Regions from separate parts of the Homo sapiens genome. Here all the other regions are linked to region 4. The links are contacts of gene promoters, found by promoter capture Hi-C in blood cells and fetal thymus (Javierre and others, 2016). All regions are on one chromosome and are shown on one strand. The core of a region is centred on a gene start or on the middle of the fragment in contact, and the rest is flanking DNA. Distances in the headings are between cores, read along the strand shown. Region 1 has its middle 8.7 kb from the start of DNAJB4. Region 2 overlaps FUBP1 (far upstream element binding protein 1). Region 3 overlaps MIGA1 (mitoguardin 1). Region 4 holds the start of ACADM (acyl-CoA dehydrogenase medium chain).

Region 1 (6,207 bases), core at 3,183-5,682, 2.3 Mb before region 4:
CAGTTTATAAAATACTTCCATATGCTTTCTCACATACATCTGATACTCAAGTGATAAGATTTCAAAGAGCTTTTCTATAGCTACAGTCTAATAATGAGCTAAGATATTCTTGACAATTCTTAAACATACACTGTTCCAATATTTACATAAAACTAGAGGGTACTAGGCTGTGTCTATCCTAATGTTTCACCTGTTTTTAAGATAATATCTAAATAGTTATATAAAATCAAATTATTGGCCATTTAATAACGGACTATATCTTACCTCTACATACTATAATTTCCTAAAAAACCAGTAAGCACTAAGAGGTATCATTACCATAGATTGCTATAGAGCAAATGCTTGATGTAAGTTTGCAACTCAGACCCTCAATTCTCATTCCTGTGAAAAGGTTCCAGAGCATAATACTTACAGTACCTTTTAATTTTGTGATGGCTACAAATGCAACTTTGTCTTTAGGGGAAAAATAGGGAAATTTTTATTTATTGTGTATGTGTTGCCAAGATACAGACCCATAAAATCTATTTATTTATTTATTTATTTAGAGACAGGATCTCACTCTGTTGCCCAGGCTGATTGTGTTCCTGATCTCACAATCTCAGCTCACTGCAGCCTCGACCTCCTGAGCTCAAGCCATTTTCCCACCTCAGCCCCCAGAGTAGCTAGGACCACAGGCATGCCACCATGCCTGGCTAATTTTTCTATTTTTAGTACAGATGAGGTTTCGCCATGTTGCCCAGGCTGGTCTAGAACTCCTGGGCTTAAGCGATCCACCCATTTTGGTCTCCCAAAGTGCTGAGATTACAGGTCTGAGCCACCGCACTCAGCTGAGAAATTTTAAAGAGATTCACTTCTTACCTTATCTACGTTACAAGCTGAAATACATAAACTTAAGGCAAGTGTCTTTAAGACATTAAGCCCTATCCATTTAAGCTTAAATTGTTTTAGAAATCCTACTCTCCCACGCCCCTTACCTGTAAATGTCCTTTTTTAGGCAATGACAGTAGTTTGGATTCATTATATTTGGAATTTGTCAACAGTATCTGACTGTCCATTTTATAGTATTTGATGGGTACACAAACTGTTTAAAAAGGTGGTTATCATAGTGCACATTTTCCACAAATAAAGTATTTCAATCACTCAGCAAATATTTATGGAGTGTTTATTTTGTGTCACACACTATTTTAGGTGCTGTTAACTAGATAGACATTATCCTTGCTCTCATTCAACTCATTCTAGAGGGGGAAGACAAACAATAAAAAGTTAATAACGAAATGAGATCGTTTTAAGAGCTTTAAAGATAGTCAAACAGAGGCCGGTGCGGTGGCTCACGCCTGTAATCCCAGCACTTTGGGAAGCTAAGGACTGCAGATCACTTGAGGCCAGGAGTTCAAGACCAGCCAACACGGTAAAACCCCGTGAAAATACAAAATTAGCTGGGCATGGTGGCGTGCACCTGTGGTCTCAGCTACTCAGGAGGCTGAGGTGAAAGGATCATTTGGGCCTGGGAGGTGGAGGTTGCAGTGGGCCAAGATCATGCCACTATACTCCAAACTGGGTGACAGAGGGAGACTGTCTCAAAAAGAAAAGAAGAAAAAAAAAGTTAATTATTATCCTCAACTTGGGCTGGAGTGGTGGGGATAGGAAAGACTTCAGAACAGAAAATTGTGAGCAAAGTCATGAAAGACTGATAGATTTTGACAGAGAAAGGGAGAATTTGCAATTTGGATCAGGAACACTAAGTCAAGAAGCAAAAGAGCATAAAATGTATTTGATACAGCAAAAATACTGGTGAGATTAATGCATGCAAATTAGGAAGGCTTGCCCTGGGAAGCTGGCAGAAAATAAGTTACGGTCAGATTGTTCGAAGTTTTTTTTATGGAGACAGGGTTTTACTGTCACCGAGGCTGGAGTGCAGTGGCATTGTCACAGATCGCTGCAGCCATGATCTCTCCTGGGCTCAGCCTCCCAAGTAACTGGTATTACAGGCTCACACCACCACCACATCTTGCTAATATATATATAGATATATAGATATAGATATAGATATAGATTTTTTTTTTTTTTTTTTTGTAGAGACAGGTTCTCACTATGTCTCCCAGGCTGGTCTCAAACTCCTGGGCTCAAGCAATCCTCCCGTCTCAACCTCCCAGTGTTGGGATTACAGGCATGTGCAACTGCACCCAGCTGAAAGTTTTTAATGTCACACTTGATGACTGCTCTTTTATGCTCTTCAAAAAGCACTAATTCAATAGTTTGGTCTTTGAAAAAAAATTACTTGAAGAGGTTGCTTCATTTCTTAAGTGTCCATTTATTCCCAAACCAGTGAAATTACTTTTCTGGTTGTCAGTAAGGTAAAGGGTTCTTAACAAAGTTTCATTAATAATCTGTAAGCTTCCTGGCCAGGCGCTGTGGCTCACGCCTGTGGTTCTGGCTACTCTAGAGGATCACTTGAGACCAGGAGCTCAAGGTTGCAGTGAGCCGTGATCGCAGTCCACCCGGGTGACAGAGGGAGATCCTGTCTCAAATAATAATAATTTGTAAGCCTCCAAGAGCACCAACATAAGATGGCAAACTAACTTAAAATGGTTGGTAGGAAGAATAATTTTAGTCATAATTCTCTGTGGACTATTGTCTGTATCATCAAAATTTCCATTTTATCGCTACAGTAATATTAGTAATTCCCCAAGTTTTCAAATGTTGATACTGTGTCATGGCTTGGTTTTATAATACTTTCCCCGAAGCACTATAATATATACATTTAATTTTTTTGTCTAGTGGTCTTTAAAACAAGATTTTAAATTGTTTAAAAAATTAAAAAGTACCTACCTTTCAAAAAACAAGAAAATAAAATTGCTTTAAATGTATAGAAATTACTAGATTTGGAGACACCCAGGGGATCAGACATATTTTATACTTAAAAAAATAAATCAGCCAGGTGCAGTAGCTTACACCTGTAATCCCAGCACTTTAGAAGCACGAGGTGAGAGGATCACTTGAGCCCAGGAGTTTGAGACTAGCCTGGGTAACAAAGTGAGAATTCCATCCCTACAAAAAATTTACAAATCAGCCAGGCATGGTGGCATGTGCCTGTAGTCCCAGCTACTCAGGAGGCTCAGGCAGGGGGATGGCTTGGGTCCAGGAGGTCAAGGCTGCAGGTGAGCCGTGATCATGCCACTGTATTCAAACCTGAGTGACACAATAAGACCCTGTATCCAAAAAATATATATATCATTTCCTTTTTTGGGGAGTATAGAACTAACTTATTCTAACTGGGATGAATAAAATATTCAAGCAACAACTAGCCCTTCTTTGTTACCCTCTTTTACAATAAGTCCTTGAAAGCTTGCTAATGACTAGTGAATGTATGGCGAGCTAATATACTTTTCTGGCATTTTGAAATAATTTAAAGAGTTCTTTTTTTGTTTTGTTTTGTTTTTTGAGACAGAATCTCACTCTGTTGCCCAGGCTGGAGTGCAATGGCACAGTCTGGGCTCACTGTAACCTCCGCCTCCCGGGTTCAAGTGATTCTCCTATTTCAGCCTCCCAAGTAGCTGGGACTACAGGCATGTGCCACCACACCCAGCTAATTTAAAATAAAGTGTTCTTTACACTGATTTTAAACACTGAGTTAGGCCCAGGGTGATAGCTCACACTTGTAATCCCAGTACTTTAGGAAGCCAAGGCAAAAGGATCACTTGAGTCTAGGAGTTCAAGACCAGCTGAGCAACATAGTGAGACCTCGTATCTACAAAAAATAAAACAGATTAGCCAGATGTAGTGGCATGCACCTGTAGTCCTAGCTACTTGGGAGGCTGAGGCAGGAGGATCACTTGAGCCCAGGGAGATGAGGCTGCAATAAGCCATGATCACGACACCACTGCACTTCAAGCCTGGGCAACAGAGCAAGACTGTCTCAAAACCAAAAACACTGTATTAGCCAAAAAATTTTAAAAAGAGCTAGAGTTTCTACATCATTTTAAATGGGTCTTGATAAACTAATATTTCATTATAACATTTTGCCTGTGTTGAAAGATCACACTATTTAGACCAGTGCTGTCCAACAGAAATATAAAGCAAGCTACAAATGCAAGCCACATTTCCAGAAACCATATTTTTTTAAAGTAAAAACAAACGTGAAATTAATTTTAATAATGTATTTTATTTAACCTAGTAAATCCAAAATATTATCATTGCAGCATATAATCAAAATACAAATTATCAATGAAATACTTTACATTCTTTATTTTTTGTACTAAATATTTGAAATACAGCATGTATTTTACACTTTGACCTCAATTCAGATAGGTACATTTCAGTAGCTTAAGAGTCTCATGTGGCTAGTGGCTACTGTGTTGGACAGTGCAGATCTAGTGGTTCCTTCTAGTCGGCAGTACTATAATCCAATTTTTCAGAAATCTCAGCCTGTGAATCTCAGCCCAAGTATACCACACATACATACCTCTCACATGCACATTTAGGGTAAATAAAGTCTTAACAGGTGAACTCTATTTTACTTATAAAATAGTACTACATTGTTCATCCATATAAACAATATGATAATTTTTTTCAAAATAATACTTTACACTTAAGGTAGTAGGAATGTATTTACACATGCTCAGTTGACATACACTTTCACAATGTTTAATTGTAAAAGCAACACTTGGAAATGAGGAATCTACGTGATTTTCACTTTTATCTTTTCTAAAATGTCTCTTCTCATACTCTTTTCTTATATGTGGCCTGAGATGTCATCTTAATTGGCTCATTAGAAAAATGAGAGTAGTTAAAAAAAAAAAAAAAGAGAGAGAGTAGTTTAAGGAGTACACAGAAAAAAAATGTCTGTAGCCCAAGAGGAGGAGAGGATATGCAGCTGTTTCATTGAATTATTAGGCTCTTAGCCAAGACTGCAACAAACTGATTATTTAGCAAGTTTGTTTAGCTAATTGTTTACAATTCTCAAATAATTTTTTTCTTTTTTTTTTTTTTTTGAGACAGTCTTGCTCTGTCACCCAGGCTAGAGTGCAGTGGTTTCATTATGGCTCACTGCAGTCTCAGCCTCCGGGGCTCAAGTAGTCCTCCCAACTCAGCCTCCCAAATAGCTGGGACTACAGGCATGTGCCACCATGTCTAGCTATTTTTTCTTTTGTAGAGATAGGGTCTCCCTATTTTGCTTAGGCTAGTCTTGAACTCCTGGGCTCAAGCTATCTTCCCACCTCCGCCTCCCAAAGTGCTAGGATTACAGGTGTGAGCCATTGTGCCTGGCCTCTCAAATGATTTAATTTAAATCAGTACCAAACTTTAACTATGAATTAACTTTATCGTATACTGCATCCATTAAAACATAATCACGAAACCACTGCTACCATGGAGACTTAACTATGATTCGAAGACTTTAATAATGGCTACCAAATATAAGTATTAGAACATTTATATAAATAAGCCCGTATGTCCTATAGTATTTACCAACTACTATAAAATTCAGCCATTGACTACCTAATTCCAAATGCATAAGCTTGAACTATTATAATTGTCTAAAGAAGGATATTTAGAGAAAAATATATCTCTAAAATAAATTAACTGTAAATGGATGGGTTTTAATGTTCAAGTTATTAATATTTCAAAAATATAAACTTTTTGTTATCTAGGTCAAATCAGCATATCAAGCCAACCATTACTGAGACCCCACTGTGCTATACTGTTACATGTAACATGAAGGATAAAACAGTATAATACATAGTCCCTACCCTTAAGGAGTTTATACTATAAATAAGTCAGGCACGGTGGCTCATGCCTATATCCCAGCACCTTAGAAGGCCAAGGAGGGCGGATCAATTGAGGTCAGGAGTTCGAGACCAGCCTGGCCAACGTGGTGAAACCCTATCTCTACTAAAAATACAAAAAAATTAGCCAGATGTGGTGGCACACACTTGTAGTCCCAGCTACTTGGGAGGCTGAGGCAGGAGAATTGTTTAAACCCGGGAGGTGGAGGTTCAGTGAGCCAAGATTGTTCCACTGCACTCCAGCCTGGGTGACAGAGCGAGACTCGATCTCAAAAAAGAAAAAAAATAAAAGAAAAAGGAGTTTATACTATAACTATATAAAGTAATACCTAATGTCTATTGTTGCTTTTGCCAGACAGCGGTAGAGTTGAGTAGCTGCAGCAGAGACTGTATGGCCCACAAGGCCTAAAATAGTTACCGTCTG
Region 2 (6,737 bases), core at 3,610-6,109, 2.2 Mb before region 4:
TAGAAGTACAATGTGAGCCACATGTTTTGTTTAACCCAGCATATCCAAAATATTACCCCCTTTGCATGTGCTTAATATAAAAATTTAAGATGATTTATATTCCAGGTTTTCAATATTCAGTGAGTAATTTTACACTTAGAGCAAGTATCATTTCAGACTAGTCACATTTTGAGTACTCAATAACCACATATGGCTAGTGGCTACCTTACTAGATAGCATAGCCTTTGAGTCCCACAAAGTGTTCACATTCTATGTGTTTACACACATCTTTTGAAGTGTCATGACAGAGCCAGATAGGATCCAGATTTTCTTTAAATCTGGTCTCTCTTCCGGATTCCTAGTTGATTACTTCTTTGTTGCTTCTTATAGGGATGTATCAGAAGTTTAATAATCTTATGATTATTATGTTAACTGCCTGAAGTATTAATGGTAGCAATAAATTGAACTATAATTTTAATTTTTCAAGTAAATTTTCTTATGTGATACTAAATATTTCACATATACATGTATCAGGAAGTAAATGGGGGTAATTTAGTAATGAATAGTATATAATAGTTTATGATGGTATTTTTCTTTTTTTTTTTTAGATTGCAGCAAAAATTGGAGGTGATGCAGGGACATCACTGAATTCAAATGACTATGGTTATGGGGGACAAAAAAGACCTTTAGAAGATGGAGGTAAGTTATACTCTAAGTATTTTAAATTGTTTTTCAGAGTGTTTAGTTGAAGTGATTCTCGGTATTTTTCTGTTATTTTATTGAGATATTAACTTTTATTATAAGGTTGTTAAAATTGTAAGCTGTATATTGGCCTAAAAGGGGGGAAAGAAAACTAGACAAGGTAAGTAAAATTTGAAAGAAATTTTTTAAAAAATTTTTTAAAAAAGGAAGTTTTGTCTTAATAGAAAACAATTTATTTTCCCTCTTTTAGGATTGTGCCAGATTGAAAGTTTGCACAGACGTCTTGTTAATAATATTAAAAAACATATAAATTGCTTAGAAGACACTTCACTGGTTTTACTCATACGTGAATGGATTTTAATATGCTGTATTTTCGTCATTTTTCTATTTCCAATTGCACCTTAAAGGTTGAAATTCCTATAGTTTGCTACTCTAGTGTGTTGCAGGTTATACCATTTTTTTTTTAATGTTCTTTACTTTCAGTACTTTTGTGTTTCACGTTTAGCTTTAAACCTGTGGATTAAAACAGTGGATTTACAGTGCTATGTATTTTTAAAAATCGTAATCGTTGAAGCTTCTGAACTTAGAAGTCTGCATGTATTTTTTGTTTTAGGTTTGATATATGAGTTTTGATACATTTTCTTTTTACCCTTTTTTTTAAAGGGAGGATTCTCACTGAGGCTATAGAATGTATTTGTAGCTTTTGACCAGGAGAACTTGGTTTCCTTTTATTTAAGTGTCTTTCATATTTATAGTGAGGTTTTTAATGTAGAAAAAAAATGAGCTAATGATGCTTCAGATGTTGTATGTAATGTATTCTTTTTATTTTATGTGTAGATGGCTCTTGGACAAGTCCGAGCAGTACAACACACTGGGAGGGAATGCCCTCTCCTTTTAAAGGCAGGAATTTTTATTTATTACCTGTGTTCAGTATGTAAACGTGAAATAAACCAGTGGATTCTTAAATGGACACAAATATTTCTTGGATTATGTGTCTGCGCATATTTTATTTTTGCTGCACAACATTCTGATGTTTAATCATTTAAGTTTGAAGGGGGGAGGAGAATGTAGTACTTTGAGCTATAGGTTGTCTGTTCCAAGGTATGCATTGTATTCATCTGTGTAATGGATTTAGGTGAAGGTAGTCATGTAGTTGCTTTGAGATTTTATTTTTTTGCTAAAGTTTTATGCAGTGAAATGTTTGTTTATAAATAATAGAACAGTTTAGGTTGAGATTGCCTTGTAATGTTGTGGGGGGTTTTTTTGTTTTTTTTTTTTTGGGCATAGCTTTGTGGTCACTGTCAGATACACTTTAATATGTCAGATTTTTGTAGTTTGATAGGCTTTTCTCCCCCCAGTCTTCAGTTCCTGAGGTGGAAGCATCATTAGCCTTTAGCATGTGATATTTTGCTAGTAATGGACCTAAAGTACGTTGTCTTGTGTCATTCTAATGTGCTTAACATACATTAAGGTCAGTGATTTCTTAAGAATCAGATAACTATTTTAATGTCTGTGCATCTTTTGAACGTGAAGAGAATGAAGTATCGTTTCTTTTTTAGATTACTGAGTTGGGGTTGAATTTTGGCAGTTTTGGTTCAAATGATAAACCATACCTTCAGATATTTCAATAAATGTTTATATTGTTATTTATTCTTGTTTGGGAGGGGAGAAGCTTTGTACTTAATTGGCAAAAAATTAAAAGACACTTAATTTTGCAGATCAACCAGATGCTAAGAAAGTTGCTCCTCAAAATGACTGTAAGTATTCCTTTTAAACTGGGTCAAAAGCTAAAGTAACAATTTCAATGTTAAGATTTTGTTCATATTATTGGGTATCTTTGAAGTTAGTTGGTTTATGAGTATTTTGGATCAGCTAGCCTGAATTTCTTTGTAAATATATACCTTTTTCTCCTATTTTACAATCTGTCCCATTAATTGTGGCCGGGTATATGTAAAGATTGGTTGCTGAATTATTTTACATATTTAACAACTCCAATTCTTGATCTATACTTGTACAACTTGAAAAAGGAAATTATTTTGTTCTGTGCCATTGCTAATATAATGTCTTCCCTTTCATTGGCTCTCTTGCCCCTGTCAATGCCAATATAAATATTGTGTAAAAAATTTGACTCTCTTCAAGGTGTTGTCTGTGCATTAGGGAGAGATTTTTGAATGTTTGATGTGATTGTGTTGTTAAATATATAAGTAAATTTAAATTTTGAATTTTTGTTTTATTTTTATTTAATTTTTTGATAGCTTTTGGAACACAGTTACCACCGATGCATCAGCAGCAAAGGTATAGTCACAAGATTTTCAAAAAGTACTCTGCAAGTTTTGGTTGAGCTGTATGTAAAAACACAACCACATTGGTGTATATTGAATATGTGTCTGTGTATTTTTTGGTGTACCTAGTTCATATCACTCCCCTTGGGAAGGTACCATAAAGTGATGATTTTTCTTTTGAGTGAGAAAAATTTGTGATTTGGAGAGATAGGTGGAATTAACCACATTTTAGAAGAACAGGGGTGAATTAGAGTAACTGTTAAGATGACATTCTCTAAACTCCACTTCAACTTCTTTACAGTTAATGCCTTCAGACTGTTCCATTCATCATCCCTTCTTCACTTGATGTGTCATCTTAAATTTCTTAATTTAACTACTCAAGTAATAAGATCATATTTTTTGACATGAGTCTGAGCCTAGAACCTTAGTTTAAGCCATTGGGAGACATTAGACTTCCATTTTTATTAATAGATTATCTTTTATTTGTAAACAAAGTATCTTTCATTGAAGGAAAATGGTGCTTTCTGTTATTTCTTAGCAGATCTGTAATGACAGAAGAATACAAAGTTCCAGATGGAATGGTTGGATTCAGTAAGTAACTTGATTTTTAAAGTTTTGAAAACATGATCAAAACATACTTTAGAATCTTTCAACCAAAAAAAAAATTTTTTTTTTTCTAACTAGTAATTGGCAGAGGAGGTGAACAGATCTCACGCATACAACAGGAATCTGGATGCAAAATACAGATAGCTCCTGGTAATGTTACATTCTCATGGTATTTTCAGTGTGACTAGAAAACTAGCTTTTTTTTTTTTTTAAGCCTTCTAGTAACAATAATGCTACTTTTAATCTTTTGACCTGAAGTTATCTGTTTGTTTTAAATTGTAGACAGTGGTGGCCTTCCAGAAAGGTCCTGTATGTTAACTGGAACACCTGAATCTGTCCAGTAAGTTTGAAAAATCTTAAAAATCTACTTAAGTAACAACAGCAGAACTCTTTGAATTTTGTCTCTTCTCTTTGTTACTGCTTTATTTTACACTGTGGTTTCGCTGCCACCTTCCCTCAAAGTCCTCCAACTCCTTTGAAGTTTATGCCTCATGCCTTTCTCAGGTGGGGTTCATCATCTGAATCATTAAACACAGAAAATGGTTAAAACAACTCCATATCTACTCCAGTCTCTACTTGTAAAGCCACGTGTAGCCTGGAGAAGAATGCACAGTCAGGTCGACTGGTGACACTTAAAACTCAGACATTAAGCTCAAGTGGACTGTTGTGTTGCCTGCATTTCCCTAGTTCCATTCACTTTTCCACTCCTCTCCCAGGCTCTTTAATACTGTATTTCCCCACCTCCAAATCTTCAGCATCTAACCCCACGCTCTCCCACTTAAGCTTATTTACTGAGAAAATGGAAGCAAATGATAAGAAGCTTTTCTTTTTCCCTACCACTAAACCTACCAGCCTTCATTTTTCCTCTGTTCACATAGTACTCAGGTAATTGCTTTCCTTTTGTGTTCGAGTGCCTAAAGCCAGCCCTTTCTTCCTACTGAAGGTTCAGCTTGCAGTTGTACTTTCTTCTGCATTGTTAGTTCTCCCTCATTACTAGGTTTTTTCTTTTCTTTTTTTTGAGACGAAGTCTCGCTCTGTTGCCAGGCTGGAGTGCAGGGGCACGATCTCGGCTCACTGCAACCTCCGCCTCCCGAGTAGCTGGGACTACCGGTGCATGCCACCACACCCAGCTAATTTTTGTATTTTTTTAGTAGAGACAGGGTTTCACCATGTTGGCCGGGATGGTCTCAATCTCTTGACCTCGTGATCCACCCACCTCGGCCTCCCAAAGTCCTGGGATTACAGGCGTGAGCCACTTCCCCCAGCCTGATTTTCTTTATGGCACTTTCCAAATAATGTGTTATTCATTTGACATGTTATTTTTACTTATTTAATGAAATGAAGCCACTCTAGCAGGAACCCTGTTTCTTTGAGTGCTATTACCCCATTACCTAGAATAGCACCTGCACATAGTTGATATTTAAATATTTGTTGAATGAATAATTGTAGCATATGAGTAAGCAAAATGGTAGTTTAAAAATGTAAATAAATCATTTAGTTCTTGGAAGAATCAGTTTAATTCTGAGATAACTTTAGCATTAGAGTTCTTTCTTGGAAATTTTGGACTATTCTTAAAAATAAAAATTGTATATCTAGAAAATTTTTTTGCATAATCTCTCAATCTTTGACCCTTGATGGCATTTTCTTTCAGTTAAAAGTAAAAGCATTGTTAAAGTTAGCATCAAGGCACCTAATCCTGAACTGGGATAGGAGGAGTACTTGGTTATATTGTTTTATATTTCTCTATTTGAATAAGCTTGGGTATGCTACAGCTTACTATTTAAATATTAATTTGTTAACAGGTCAGCAAAACGGTTACTGGACCAGATTGTTGAAAAAGGAAGACCAGCTCCTGGCTTCCATCATGGCGATGGACCGGGAAATGCAGTTCAAGAAATCATGATTCCAGCTAGCAAGGCAGGATTAGTCATTGGAAAAGGGGGAGAAACTATTAAACAGCTTCAGGTATTGTTATTTTTGTGAAATGGCTACTTTTGATCTGTTTTGATGCCCATTTTTGTCCACTTCCTTTTGTTAATATATATTATTTCTATGATTGTAACAGGAACGGGCTGGAGTTAAAATGGTTATGATTCAAGACGGGCCGCAGAACACTGGTGCTGACAAACCTCTTAGGATTACAGGAGACCCATATAAAGTTCAAGTAAACTTAACTTTATACTTTATAAAGAAAGAGTGGGTTGAATGGGGTTGGGCAAAATATGCATGAATAATTAAAATGTTTTGAGACATGCTTTCTAAATTAGCTAACTTTTTCTGCTTTAGCAAGCCAAGGAAATGGTGTTAGAGTTAATTCGTGATCAAGGCGGTTTCAGAGAAGTTCGGAATGAGTATGGGTCAAGAATAGGAGGAAATGAAGGGATAGATGTAAGTAAAAATACCCATTCAGAAATGGTTGTATGCTAATTCATAAATATAATAGTGTTTTCTGTTTTGTGTTAAGTAGCTCTAACATTGTTATCCTTTTATTTCACCTTTATACTTTAGAATACAGAATTCTATATATCTTGTTACCCTATTTACTATAAATATAGAATTATATGTACTTTTATGATTTGAGGCAGATTTTCAGGAAATGGCGCTTTTTTAAAATACTTTTTTTTACTTTAAACCCTGAGAAGCTAGCTTTCTTAATACTTAGTCTTTTTTACATAAGGTCCCCATTCCAAGATTTGCTGTTGGCATTGTAATAGGAAGAAATGGAGAGATGATCAAAAAAATACAAAATGATGCTGGTGTTCGCATTCAGTTTAAGCCAGGTGAGTACATATAATAATCTTGTAAGTGTTGGCAGCAGTGAGTTTTGACATACATTTATTGTTTAATTAATTTTGTTTCTTTGTTTTGAAGATGATGGGACAACACCCGAAAGGATAGCACAAATAACAGGACCTCCAGACCGATGTCAACATGCTGCAGAAATTATTACAGACCTTCTTCGAAGTGTTCAGGTTTGATAGAAAGTTAACATTTTCATTTTTTGTTTTTATGGAAAAGTATTTTCCTTCATGAAATCTGAAGTTACCTCTATATCAGAGTCTGCTTGATGATGCTTTATTAATGGAGAAAGTTTAAATTGCTTTAAGGTAAAGATCTTGGAGCAGGAAGAACTACTACCTTAAGTGCTACCTTATTTACTCTTGTATT
Region 3 (6,792 bases), core at 1,620-4,119, 2.1 Mb before region 4:
AGATTGCGCCATTGCACTCTAACCTGGGTGAAGAAGCGAGACTCTGTCTAAAAAAAAGAAAAAATACAAAAATTAGCCAGGTGTGGTGGCAGGCACCTGTAATACCAGCTACTCGGGAGGCTGAGGCAGGAGAATTGCTTGAACCCAGGAGGCAGAGGTTGCAGTGAGCCAAGACTGCACCACTACACTCCAGCTTGGGTGACAGAGTGAGACTCCATCTCAAAAAAAAAAAAAAAGAAAAGAAAAGTAATTCACAGAATTGGAGAAATATATGGAAATCATATAACTAACAAGGAATTAATATCCAGACTATACAGAGAACTAAAACTCCACGAGAACAAAACAATTTCAAAAATGGGCAAAGGGGCCAGGCACAAGTGGCTCACACCTGTAATCCCAACACTTTGGGAGGCGGAGGCGGGCAGATCACCTGAGGTCAGGAGTTCCAGACGAGCCTGGCCAGCATGGCAAAACCCTGACTCTATTAAAAATACAAAAATTAGCCAGGTATGGTGGCAGGCGCCTGTAATCTCAGCTACTCAGGAGGCTAAGGCAGGGAGAATTGCTTGAACCCAGGAGGCCGAGGCTGCAGTGAGCAGTGAGATTGCACCACTGCATTCCAGCCCATGCAACAGAGTGAGATTCTGTCTTACAAAAAAAAAAAAAAAGGGCAAAGGACTAAAATATACATTTCTTCAAAGGATACATATAAATGGTCAATAAGCACATGAGAAGATGCTCAACATCATCAGGGAAATACAAATCAAAACCAGAAGGATATACTACCTTTGATATGGTTTGGCTGTGTCCCCACCCAAATCTCATCTTGAATTCCCATGTGTTGTGAGAGGGACCCAGTGGCAGGTAATTGAATCATGGGGACAAGTCCTTCCCTTGCTGTTCTCATGACAGCGCATAAGTCTCACGAGATCTGATGGTTTGATAAGGGGAAACCCATTTCATTTGGCTCTCACTCTCTCTTGCGGCTGCCATGTGAGACGTGCCTTTCACCTTCCGCCATGATTGTGAGGCCTCCCCAGCTACATGGAACTGTAAGTCCAATAAAGCTTTCTTTTGTAAATTGCCCAGTCTCAGGTATGTCTTTATCAGCAGCATGAAAATGGACTAATACAGTAAATTGGTACCAGTAGAGTGGGGTGCTGCTGAAAAGATACCCAAAAATGTGGATGTGACTTTGGAACGGGATAACAGGCAGAGGTTCAAATAGTTTGGAGGGCTCAGAAGAAGAGAGGAAAATGTGGGAAAGTTTGGAACTTCCTAGAGTCTTGTTGAATGGCTTTGCTCAAAATGCTGATAGTGATATGAATAATAAAGTGAGGCTGAGGTGGTCTCAGATGGAGATGAGGAACTCATTGGGAACTGGCACAAAGGTGACTCTTACTATATTTTAGCAAAGAGACTGGTGGCATTTTGCCCCTGACCTAGAAATCTGTGAAACATTGAACTTGAGAGAGATGATTTAGGGTATCTAGCAGAAGAAACCTCTAAGCAGCAAAGCATTCAAGAGGTGACTTGGGTGCTGTTAAAGGCATTCAGTTTTATAAGGGATGCAGAGCACAAAAGTTTGGAAAATTTGCAACCTGACAATGCCATAGAAAAGAAAATTCCATTTTCTGAGAAGTTCAAGCAGGCTGCAGAAATTTGCATAAGTAAAGAGAAGCCAAATGTTAATCCCCAAGATAATGGGGAAAATGTCTCCAGGGCATGTCAGAGGTCTTCACGGCAGCCCCTCCCATCACCAGCCAGGAGGCCTAGGAGGAAAAAGTGGTTTCAGGGGCCAGGCCCAGTGTCCCCGTGCTGTGTGCAGCCTAGGGACTTGGTGCCCTGCATCCCAGCCACTCTAGCCATGGTTGAAAGGGGCCACCATAGAGCTTGGGCTGTGGCTTCAGAGGGTGCAAGCCACAAGCCTTAGCAACTTCCACATGGTGTTGAGGCTGCCAGTGCACAGAAATCAAGAATTGGAGTTTGGGAACCTCCACCTAGATTTCAGAAGATGTATGGAAATGCCTGGATGCCCAGGCAGAAGTTTGCTGCAGGGGTGGGCCCTCATGGAGAACCTCTGCTAGGGCAGTACAGAAGGGAAACATGGAGTCGGAGGCCCCACACAGAGTCCCTACTGGGGCACCGCCTAGTGCAGCTGTGAGAAGAGGGCCACCGTCCTCCAGACCCCAGAATGATAGATCCACCAACAGCTTGCACCATACACCTGGGAAAGCCACAGACATTCAATGCCAGCCCATAAAAGCAGCCGGGAGGGAGGCTGTACCCTGCAAAGCCACAAGGGCAGAGCTACCTACGACCATGGGAACCCACCTCTTGCATCAGCATGACCTGGATGTGAGACATGGAGTCAAAAGAGATCATTTTGGAACTTTAATATTTGACTGCCCTGGCCGGGTGCAGTGGCTCACACCTGTAATCCCAGTACTTTGGGAGGCCAAGGCAGGCAGATCACCTGAGGTCAGCAGTTCAAGACCAGCCTGACCAACATGGAGAAACCCCATCTCTACTAAAAATACAAAACTAGCCAGGCGTGGTGGCACATGTCTGTAATCCCAGCTACTCAGGAGGCTGAGGCAGGAGAATCGCTTGAACTCGGGAGGCAGAGGTTGCGGTGAGCCAAGATTGTACCATTGCACTTCAGCCTGGGCAACAAGAGCCAAACTCCCTCTCAAAAAAAAAAAAAAATTTTTGACTGCCCTGCTGGATTTCAAACTTGCATGGGGCCTGTAGCTCCTTTGTTTTGGCCAATTTTTCCCATTCGGAATAGCCATATTTACCCAATGCCCATACCCCCATTCTATCTAGGAAGTAACTAATTTGCTTTTGATTTTACAGGCTTATAGGTGGAAGGGACTTGCCTTGTCTCAGATGAGACTTTGGACTGTGGACTTTTGAGTTAATGCTGAAATGAGTCAAGACTTTGAGGGACTGTTGGGAAGGCATGATTGCTTCTGAAATGTGAGGACATGAGATTTGGGAGGGGCCAGGAGCAGAATGATATGGTTTGGCTGTGTCCCCACCCAAATCTCATCTTGAATTCCCACGTGTTGTGGGAGGGACCCAATGGTAGGTAACTGAATCATGGGGACAAGTCCTTCCCTTGCTGTTCTCATGATAATGAGTAAGTGTCACAATATCTGACAGTTTCAAAAATGGGAGTTTTTTTGCACAAGCTCTTGTCTGCCGCCATATGAGATGTGATTTTCACCTTCCACCATGATTGTGAGACCTCCCCAGCCATGTGGAACTGTGAGTCCAATAAACGTCTTTCTTTTGTAAATTGCCCAGTCTTGGGTATATCTTTATCAGCAGCATGAAAACGGACTAATATAACCTCATACCTATTAGGATGGCTACTATCAATGAAATAGAAAATAACAAGCATTGATGAGGATGTGGAAAAACTGTGCACTATGTGGAAAAACTGTGCACTATTGGTAGAAACGTAAAGTGGTACAGCTACTGTGAAAAACAGTATGGCAGTTCCTCAAAAAATTAAAAATAGGGCTGGGTGAACCAGCTGACACCTATAATCCCAGTACTTTAGGAGGTCAAAGTGAGAGGATGATTTGAGGCCAGGAGTTCAAGACCAGCCTGGTCAACATGCTGAGACTCTGTCTCTTCAAAAAATTTAAAAACTGGTGGAGAGATGGTGGCACATGCCTGTAGTCCCAGCTACTTGAGAGGCTGAAGTGGGAGGATTGCTTGACCCCAGGAGTTTGAGGCTGCAGTGAGCTATGATCTTGCCACTGTACTCCAAAGCAAGACCCTGCCTCTAAAAAATAATAATAAATAAATAAATACATAAATAAATAAATTTAATTAAAAGTAGAATTACTGTATGATCCAGCAATTTCACTTGACACAAAATAATTAAAAGCAGGATCTCAAAGAGATATTTGTATGTCCATGTTTATAGCAGCATTATTCACAATAGCAAAAACATGGACGCAATCCAATGTCCATCAACAAACACACACATAAGCAAAATGTAGTATATCCACACAACGAAATATTATTCTACCTTAAAAAGAAAGGAAATGCTGACATATGCTACAACATGGATGAACCTTGAGGACATTATGCTAAGTAAAGTGAGCTAGTCACAAAAAAATTCTGTAGGGTTCTACTTGTGAGGTACCTGGTCGAATTCATACAGACAGGAAACAGAATGGTGGTGGGGAATGACGGGAAGGAGGTACAGTAAGATGTTGATAAACAGTTGTAGAGTTTGAGTTTTGCAAGATGAAAAAAATTCTGGATATTGTTTGTACAACAATGTGAATGTACTTAAGGCTAATGAACTATACACTTAAAAATGATCAAAATGGTCAATTTTATGTTATTTGTACCTTACCACAATAAAATTTAAAGGATTGTTAATAGTGAGAACAGGCCTACTGGAATAACATAATTCACTGAAAGTAATAATAATGGACTATGTAAGTTTGCTTAAGACAGAAAAAAATTTTTAAGTAACATAACCTTTTTTTAAGAGTTACAATAACCAAAACCAAAAACAAAAACCCGTGAAATAACCAAGTAGGTTTTTTAACTACTGTAATAAATATTTTGACTGTACTATATAGAAACCTCAAATAAAACTGAAATAATGTAAACAAAATATGCTCTGAGCAATAAGCTTAATATTCAACTTCCTGTTTGCTTCTTTTATTTACCTGGGAGAGAGAATAGTACCAAGTCAGAGGAAGATCAAACACTCTTAGCGCTGCTGTCTTCAAGGAAAACTGTGATTCACTTACTGTTTCTTCTGACATGGCTCCTCTTCTAATCTTCATTAAATGAAACATAAAAAAAATTAGCCACAAAGATTTCTGGTTACTTTACCAATGAAAGGTACAAACTGAAAATTTAATTCTATCAGCTTATTTTTGCAGTCAATTATTGATGACATTACACTTGAGCTAAAATTATATTTATTAATCACCAAACGCGTAAAAGAAACAATAAGCTATCCTTCCTGTAGGAGATAGCATAAAAAATAAGAAGTTAAAAAAAAAAAAAAGCTAGATTTAAACTTTGAGTCCGGGTAGCAAATTTTCCTTAGGAAATTGCGAGTTCTAGATTCTCTCTTTTCTGGTTACATAAAAATTTAACACTTTTTAGGGAGTAATTTAAAATTTACTTCTCATTCATTTGGTTTCCTTCATATAACTGCGGGGGTGAGAGTAGGTGGCAGGCAGGTTGCTGAATGGAATCTGGAACAGAATCTTGGGGCTAGAACCTCAGAGTTCACTGACTGAACTCCAGAACTCACGCATTTATTCTCCTATTGTCTCATTTTAAAGATCTTCAAAGAAATGCCACATATATGCTATATGATTTTGGTATAGTTTTAATGCGTATTATTTCTCTTAAACAAAAAAAGAAAAGTCAGATGAGTACAGAGAAGCAGTTGACACACAAAGAGAGGTCATTAAGGCAGTGGTTCAGGGTCTGGGTCTCTGCTTTATAGAGCCAGAAACGTAATTTTACCACTGTACCCAGTTGAACACATGTTAAACAAATTTACATGGTATTGATGCATAAATCACTTTACAAGTTTATCTATTTATAATAAAGAAATAAACGATCTAGTGTACATATTCTATCAAAACATACCATCCCTGAAATAAAAGACCATAGGAAGCTGAACTAATAAGTCAAAAATGTTGCCTGATGAGTGCAAAAATCAAGAGTCCTGAGGAATATTTCATTCAGGCCAAGAAAACGCCTAAGCATTATCTCTAATGCACAAGAGAATGGGCTTCTCTAATAACCACAATGTTTATGTCTACCAAATTTATTATTTCTTTTATTTGGGTAGTGCTGTATATTACATAACAGAATATAAAAATTACCAGCAATCCCTCTATAAAAGTTTATTTGCGGCTGGGCACAGTGAGTGGCTCATGCCTGAGCACTTTGGGAGTGACTTTGGGAGGCCGAGATGGGTGGATTGCTTGAGTCCATGAACCCAGGAGTTCGAGACCAGCCTGGGAAACATGGTGAAACCCTGCCTACACCAAAAAAAAAAAAAATTATTTGCTACACTTTTTTAGGCCCTTCATTTCTGCATACATTTCTATGTTCTCTTTTTCTATACTCCAATAGACTATCCCCTTCTGTTAATACCCACCTGTTTTCAGACAAGTGTCAAAACCACTGATTAAGTAGTGGTTTCCTTTAAAATCAAACACAGCAATACCTCTTAGGGTGGGTTACTACTACTGATGCTTCCCTTAATCCTTACTAGGGATACAGCAGTATAAACTTAATCCCCCCTACCAGTGTTCTAAGTACAACTTTTAGATTCAGTATAGTTAGTTCTACTTGACATACATTTATTTCAGTCAACAACCTGTGATAGAGACATATGATTAAAAAGTACAGAGGAAACCATGAACAGTTAAGAAAGTGAAAAATGGTCCTCTGGAGAATAAGACAAGGGATATAGAAAAGCTGGGCAAAGAATGACTGCTTTTCCTTATAAGTCTGTTTGTAATACTTGATTTTTAAAAACCTGCCTACATGTATTACTTTTTTAATATTACTACAGTAAAAAGGAAGTGGGGGGAAGCTCATTTATTCTTCCCCCTCCCTAAATATTAACACATTTTATTTTGAGAAACATTTTTACTAATTAGATTCTGGATCATTAAGCAATCTATGCTACTGCATTTAAAAAACGTATTGAGTAATTCACCCAAAGTAATTTTCCCTATAATGGAGCATTCCAAATTTTTAAGCAGAATAGAAAGAAAATAA
Region 4 (6,825 bases), core at 2,187-4,686:
TTAGGACAAACAACAGTCAAGGGTAGTAGTAGATGTAGGACCACTATTCTGGGTATCTTACAAGCTCCTAGGACATTAATGGTTGGAGAGTTGGGGTGGGGAGAACGATAGGCTGGAAGTGAACATACTGTGTTCAAGAGTTGCCTAGTCCATCAACTTTGATACCCTGTCACTGTGAGCCTCCCATGCATGCCTCTGGAAACCTTCCCCTCAGAGGATCTCATTTTTTAGGATACCCCACTCTAACAAAACAAATTAGCATAAAACCATGTTCTGTATTTTCTGCTGTCTACAGGGATTCTTACAATGTTCTGAGCAAGGAGTCACCAAACCAGTGCAGCCACATCATGCTGTCTATTGCCGCTTTCACAGCAGATCTAAGTAGTTACCACAGAGACCATCTGGTTCACAAAGCCAAAAACATGTACTATCCGTTCCTTTACAAACACGTTTGCCATCCCTCTTCTAAACTACTAATACACTACTTGTCTTAGGATCTGAAATATAGTCATATTTCTTCAAAGGAACATATAAAGAAACAAACAATCAAATATACATATATTATTGTTTTGCAACCCATTTTTATATTCATGACAGTTTAATGGATACAAAAGTAAAAATTTGCATTTATTAAAGCTGCCAAACTGGGAACCACAATGGTGTTCTTGAGTAAAGGTTTCAGGACAGTCAAAATTACACAATTTTCACTGTAAAAGATTTTAATTGAACTATCCAGCAATTTTAACAAGCTTAGATACTAAGAGAAAAGAGCAGCTGAAGAATATACTAAAGTTTCTTTATTTAAATTCTTATGTTTTTCAAAATCCGTAAAAAGAAACTGTCTTTGTAGATGACAATTTCAACTTATAAAAGACGAATTCCTACATGTAAGGTGACAATATAATTAAGAGTGTCAAATATTTGTAATTGAAACAGTGCTTTCCAAATAACATACCTCATACTACAGTAATAAAAACATACAGAGTATGAAAACTCGCATTTTCTTTGCATCTTCATTAATTTTATTTTGAAAGTGAAACAGTGCCAGGTGGGGTGGCTCATGCGTGTAATCCCAGCACTTTGGGAGGCTGAGGTGGGCGGATCACGAGGTCAGGGGTTTGAGACCAGCCTGACCAACATGGTGAAACCCCATTTCTACTAAAAATACAAAAATTAGCCAGGTGTGGTGGCACGCACCTGTAGTCCCAGCTACTCGGGACGCTGAGGCAGGAGAATCGCTTGAACCCGGAAGGCGGAGGTTGCAGTGAGCCTAGACTGCACCATTGCATTCCAGCCTGGGTGACAGAGCAAGACTCCGTCTCAAAAAAAAAAAAAAAAAAAAAAGTGAAACAGTTTCTCTGGTGCTTATTGTCCAGCAGTCACAGACCAAATCTACTCTGATTTACAGTCGCGTTACACAGGTTAATTCACTGAATCCCAGGTCAAGTCTAGGATTAAGCCATTACTTTTATTCCACTTTCGCATGTGAAGAAACGAAGGCTCAGAAAGTCAACTAAATTAGGCAAAGTCACTCTACTATTAGTGCAACCAGGATTCTAACATTTACTATCAAGAGCGCATGCTATTAACCACCTTGCTATACTGATCTTTCTGTTAGTATCCTAATTGGTCACTAGGTTCCATAACAAAGGAAAACATTCCACAAAAATCAGAACAAAAAACCTGACTCTATTATAAATGCGTTTTTAAATACCATGCACAAAAGTCAGAACTCAAACCAGGTTAAATGGTCTACTGAGGGACTTTTTTTTTTTTTTGACAGAGTCTCCCTCTGTCACCCAGGCTAGAGTGCGGTGGAGAGATCTCCGCTCACTGCAGACTCAGCCTCCTGGGATTACAGGCATATGCTACCATGCCCAGCTAATTTTTCCTATTTTTAGTAAAGACAGGGTTTCCCTGCTTTGGCCAGGCTGGTCTCGAACTCCTGGCCTTAAGTGATCAACCCGCCGAGGCCTCCCAAGGTGCTAGGATCACAACCGTGAGCCGCCGCACCTGGCCAACCGAGGGAATTTAAATAGGGAAAAAGTCACTTCACATGTGACTGTTCAGGAAAATATGTTACATAGAACAAAGTGCAAAGGTTGCTATTACCAGAATACAATGCCCATCAACCTGTTAATTACATAACAAAGTTAGCCAGTTAATTAGAGAGGTGGTTTGCAAATAGAAAACAGAAACAGCACGGGATCTGGAGTTATAATTGCTGAATGTGAATCTAGGTTCCACAACCATATTTGTGGCCGTAGACAGGTTTACAAACTGCTTATAGCTTCCGTTCAAAACCAAAAAATGGGACTAATCTCACTGCGTATTTTCGGACGATTAAAGTACGATAATGTTTTGAAAGCCTAATGCTATATAACTATTGGTTTTATTACTTCGGGCTCTCTGTCTAGAACAATGAAATTCCAAATATCGAAACAGCACCACTAGAATTGAACACTTTTGTGCATTTCTTGGGAATATAAGAGTGTCAGTTTTATGGGTTAAAGAAGAGAAAAAGGGTGTAAGTTTTCTATATCAGGTTTTTTTTAGATCCTTCCTTGGAGGTTGAGAAATCTGCTTTTCTGGTGTAGGAGTTAAAAATAGCTGAAATCTCCCAATTTCTGCCTTCACTGCACATTAACTTGCATAACACCAGCAAAACATGGGCAGCAATTCTTTAGGATTATTCTAAAACCGCAGCTTTTTTGGTCCAAGACATAACTTTAACTTAATTTTAAGTGACATCTAAATGGCAGTGGTGTGAACATATCAAGAATATTTAAGATACCAAAATTCATCTAGTGACAAACTTATTTAGAATCTATTAAGATCCAATACTAGAATATACACACAAGTTCACATAAAATTCTGCAGGTTTTTTTTTTACTTTTTTTTTTCCCGTAAGCAACGTGGAAACGTTACAACGAAAAGCTTATTAAACATTAAGTATTTCAAGGAGTAGCTGCTCCATTTTTCTTTTTCCCGTGGTTCTGACACAGAGACGGGGTCACTTTGGAAAAAGGTGGGATTCCCGCGGTAAATATTTGGAGGGTTTACCAGAGAAAGAAAAACGATATTCTAAAGAGAGGATGCCGGCTATAACGGGGTCGCCTGACGGGAGGATACGGAAAATGAAACGCTAGGCTACGTTCCGTCCGGTGGTAGGAGGCGTGAAAGCAGGTTGGGGGCCCCTAGGCTGGCTCCTTCCTCAGCCCGACTTCCCACTCCTCCCGGCCGCACCTATTTTTGGCCCAGGGCCCCCTGCTCCGACACCACAATACCCATGTTCCAGCCCCACCGCACCGCTGGGCTCCCTCTCACCCTGCAGCATCGCCCGAACCCCGCTGCCATGTTGGCTCCCGTTCCGGCCACTCGGACAATAATACACGGGTCACGGCCTTGACATACTCCCCGAACGCGGGACTCCTCTGGTCCCGCCCACTGGAGCCCGTGGGCGGGATGGGGCGGGGCGGGAAGAGGCGGTTGGGCTGCGGAAGGACGGGGCGCTGCGCTAGGCGGGGTGGCAGCGGTCCCCGGCGCCGGGTAGCCAACGCATGCTCCGTGACCCTTGCGTGCGCCGTCGCTGCGACCTGGGGAGGGGTCGCATCCCCTCTCCGGGCAATCTCTGATAGTCCTGGTTTGGTTTTCTGCGTTTCCACCTCTGGCCCTCTCTGTGGGACGCCGAGGCTGACCGCAGCGCGGAAAGAGAGCCAGGGCGGGGGAGGGGGACGGCGGCGGGGCTGGGAGGGCCCGGTTGCGCTGAACGGTGGGGGGACTTGCGGCGCGGTGCAGGACGGGAACCTGGGTTAGAGGGCGTGGCTGGGGCCTGGAGGGAGAGCGGCCCCCGTGGTCAGCCTTCACCTTTACCCGGAGAGAACGGTCAAACCCAGATCGTGTCTGCTTGGCGGATTCAAAGTATTAGTACATTTTGCTCTCAAATGCCCTACCTAAAGCGAAAGCATACTTGTGTTTCCTTAAAATTTAAAAGAGAATTTAATTGTTTAGGTAAATTTGACCTTTCCGCGTATTCCCAAGGCTGTTTATGACTTGTCCGCTGATGTGGTGTCCTTGGATATGCGGGTGCAATCCGAGGCTGTCCAAAGCTCCTGGTTCAGCGAATGATGGAAGTGAATGTCTCCCTGAGGAATTCTACCTGGAGTCACTTTCTCTTCCAGTGAGACCCTGAGTTTTGAGATGGTAGCTTATACTAAATCTTATACTAACTTAACATTTTCTTTTGCCCAATAAAGGTCACCCATAAATTCATCTAATTTAGCTGTTAAAATTCTATATCCTGTTATTGTATTCCCCTACTTTGTCTTCTGGGAATTTATAGTGTGTTAGTCCTAGGTACAAGGCAGAATGTTAATTAAGCGCTATATTCAAAGTGAAAGTACCAGGAAAATTCGGAAAAGGGATAAAGAGCTGAGTTTGTCCTGGTATAGGCAAGAAAGCCTTCAAAGTGGTGGTGGTAAGTAAAACACAAAGCGGACTCTTAAAGATGATTAGGAATTGTCTATTCATGTCTCCTTTGTTCCAATTTCTTATTCTGAACATTTTAAACACAGAAAAGATGAACGAAAAGCACAAAATCACCCATATGCCTATTGTAACCCCTTCTTACTGTACACGTGGCTGGCAGAGAAGCGAAGATGGAGCCCTCATCTTAAACATGTCTAGTCGGTAGTTCCTGCCACCATTCACCCAAGCAAGCTACCCCCTTGTTTGTCTGTGCCTGCAGCTCGACTTCACAGGCTGCTCTTAGAAAAGGATTTGGGGCTGCTTTTCATTAAAAAGAAAAGCCTTACTGATGTTGGGAACGGGCGCTCAGTGTTGCAAAAATCAACACTGAGACAAAGGAGCTCTTAGCAAGGCTAGTTTACTTTCTGCAGAAAGGTTGCCGCTCGCTAGTAGTCTTGCCACGAGAGCACACACGCATAAAGGAGACAGGGTCATTTATAACCTGACACGTGCACCCTACTACCGTGTCCGGTTTCCATTGGCTGGAAGGGGACCTCTGTACTTGTCCTGATTGGCTAGCAACTTAGAACTTTCCAAAAGAGGCAAAGACAGAGGAGAACAAAGGAAGGAGGAAGCAACTTGTGGAATGCTGAGAAAGGTAAAAACACCTCCAGATAAGGAAGAAAACAGGCTATGGCCTAATGCTTCCTTGGACCAGTATAAGCATGCCAGGGCAAATATCTAGGCTAAAATGTGGCAGCTAAGAGCACAAAGTACATTGATTTCTTTATTACGGCCAACAGATATCAAAGAATGTTAGTGTGGCCAACTGCCACGGTTACTACTTGAGACCATCGTTACAGCAGTTACTACTGTTACTGCTTGAGACCATCATTGTGAGATCAAATGAAGGGACGAACGTAGAAATGATAACTTAAGACAAAAGGAACTGTTTTAAGGAAAGGGCCAGGGGAAGAAGAAGAGAGCTCCCTGCTTCTCGTGAGCAAAGGCAGCCACAGAGCTTCCACAGCCCTTCCTATTTTTTGGGTAACAGGAGCAGGGAGGAGGTGGTAACGATTGGTCAGCTGCTTAATTGATCACAGGTTCATATTGTTACTGACAGGCTTCAATTATGCCTAATCATAAGAAACATTTGTGCCTAGATCGTAACTACCCTCAGCAGTCCTCCTGGGTGGCATACGCAGTTTGTCAGTTCGCCAACGTTCTGCATTTATGAGAAACAGTTTGCTGCTTACTCATATAGCCTCCAGTGATATACTGAGTTGATCACGAACCTCATTGTTTCGGCCTCCAATATGTTAGCACAGTTCTTTGAATAAATTTTGCTTTTAAGAGAAGTTACTGTTTATTCCTAATTAGACGGAAAGGAAAGTCCATTTGAAGAGGAACCTCTACTTCACTTTTTACACTGAGGACTCCCATACTCGTACTATCGGCCTGAGTAATTTCTTCTCAATATCATTATCACCTAGATTCAAATATTTTTCCATATTTATTTATATATTTATATGTGTACCTATGTGTGTGTGTTTTGGTTGTTGGTTTTATTTTTCTCAGATCTGTAGGTTGTAGATAAGACACTTCAGTTCAGAATACTTTAGCTATATGTCTCCTACAAGGACATTTTCCTATATAACCATTTCCTATAAAACCTTTATCACATCAATGAAAATTAACAATTATTCGCTACTATTATTTAAGGTCCAGAGAATATTTACATTTCTCCAGTTGTCCAGTTGTCTCCAGAATACCTTTTGTAAATAGTTTGTTTTTGAACCAGGATCCTATGAATGATTGCCCATTGAAGTTGGGCTTTAACTTTCTTTGGCTTCTTTTAATCTAAAGCTTTTAATCTAATTCATTTTTCCCAATAATAACTGTCTTTTTAAACAAATTTAAGATACCAAGCAGTTGTCATGAAGAATGCCCTAATGCTGGATTGTCCGATTTTATTTATTTTGTACCTCTAGATTTTGTATTTCCTATCAGTTGCAAGTTACCAGAGGCTTGAGGAGTTCAGATTAAACATTGGATAAGGATACTTCAAAGGTCATACTGTGTAGTTAATATTGTATTACATTAGGAGGCATTTAATATCAGATTTGTCCCACTATTGGTGATGGTGTAAGCCAGCAGTGTCCAATCTTTTGGCTTCCCTGGGCCACACTGGAAGAAAAAGAATTGTCTTGGGCTATACATAAAATACACTAACACTAATGTTAACTGATAAGCTACAAACCAAAACAAAAACGCAAGAAAATTTCATAACGTTTTAAGAAAGCTTACAAATTTATGTTGGGCTGCATGCAAAGCTGTCCTGAGCTGCATGTGGCCTGT

Evidence for each region. Contacts are between HindIII fragments. The CHiCAGO score rates a contact against its expected background, and 5 or more counts as called.
Region 1: a fragment that was not itself captured here is called in contact with the fragment with the promoter of ACADM in region 4 in 1 of 17 cell types (fetal thymus); the score reaches 9.9 in fetal thymus.
Region 2: a fragment that was not itself captured here is called in contact with the fragment with the promoter of ACADM in region 4 in 2 of 17 cell types (fetal thymus and non-activated CD4 T cells); the score reaches 7.5 in fetal thymus.
Region 3: a contact is called between a fragment that was not itself captured here and the fragment with the promoter of ACADM in region 4, in 3 of 17 cell types (non-activated CD4 T cells, total CD4 T cells and activated CD4 T cells). The highest score is 7.6, in non-activated CD4 T cells.

What each region holds. Positions count from the first base shown.
Region 1 is chr1:77,993,180-77,999,386 of GRCh38, reverse strand. It overlaps a transcript of DNAJB4 not described here. Among named protein-coding and RNA genes, the nearest start is that of DNAJB4, 8.7 kb to the left of the region's middle. The HindIII fragment of the contact is 2,170 bases long and covers 3,348-5,517 here.
Region 2 is chr1:77,963,866-77,970,602 of GRCh38, reverse strand. It overlaps FUBP1 (far upstream element binding protein 1), which reads left to right. Exons shown (of 20, transcript NM_003902.5): 2 at 588-678; 3 at 2,400-2,438; 4 at 2,937-2,976; 5 at 3,502-3,554; 6 at 3,648-3,719; 7 at 3,852-3,909; 8 at 5,372-5,534; 9 at 5,635-5,733; 10 at 5,856-5,957; 11 at 6,247-6,349; 12 at 6,441-6,541. Among named protein-coding and RNA genes, the nearest start is that of FUBP1, 12 kb to the left of the region's middle. RefSeq lists a silencer at 4,785-4,987. The HindIII fragment of the contact is 936 bases long and covers 4,392-5,327 here.
Region 3 is chr1:77,781,263-77,788,054 of GRCh38, reverse strand. MIGA1 (mitoguardin 1) reads right to left here. Exons shown (of 16, transcript NM_001416120.1): 2 at 4,704-4,817. The coding sequence starts at 4,802. Among named protein-coding and RNA genes, the nearest start is that of MIGA1, 5.0 kb to the right of the region's middle. The HindIII fragment of the contact is 3,599 bases long and covers 1,070-4,668 here.
Region 4 is chr1:75,721,320-75,728,144 of GRCh38, reverse strand. ACADM (acyl-CoA dehydrogenase medium chain) reads right to left here and starts at 3,436. Exons shown (of 12, transcript NM_000016.6): 1 at 3,328-3,436. The coding sequence starts at 3,357. It also overlaps a transcript of SLC44A5 not described here. RefSeq lists enhancers at 3,221-3,310, 3,961-4,050 and silencers at 3,441-3,490, 3,541-3,590. The HindIII fragment of the contact is 3,396 bases long and covers 2,940-6,335 here.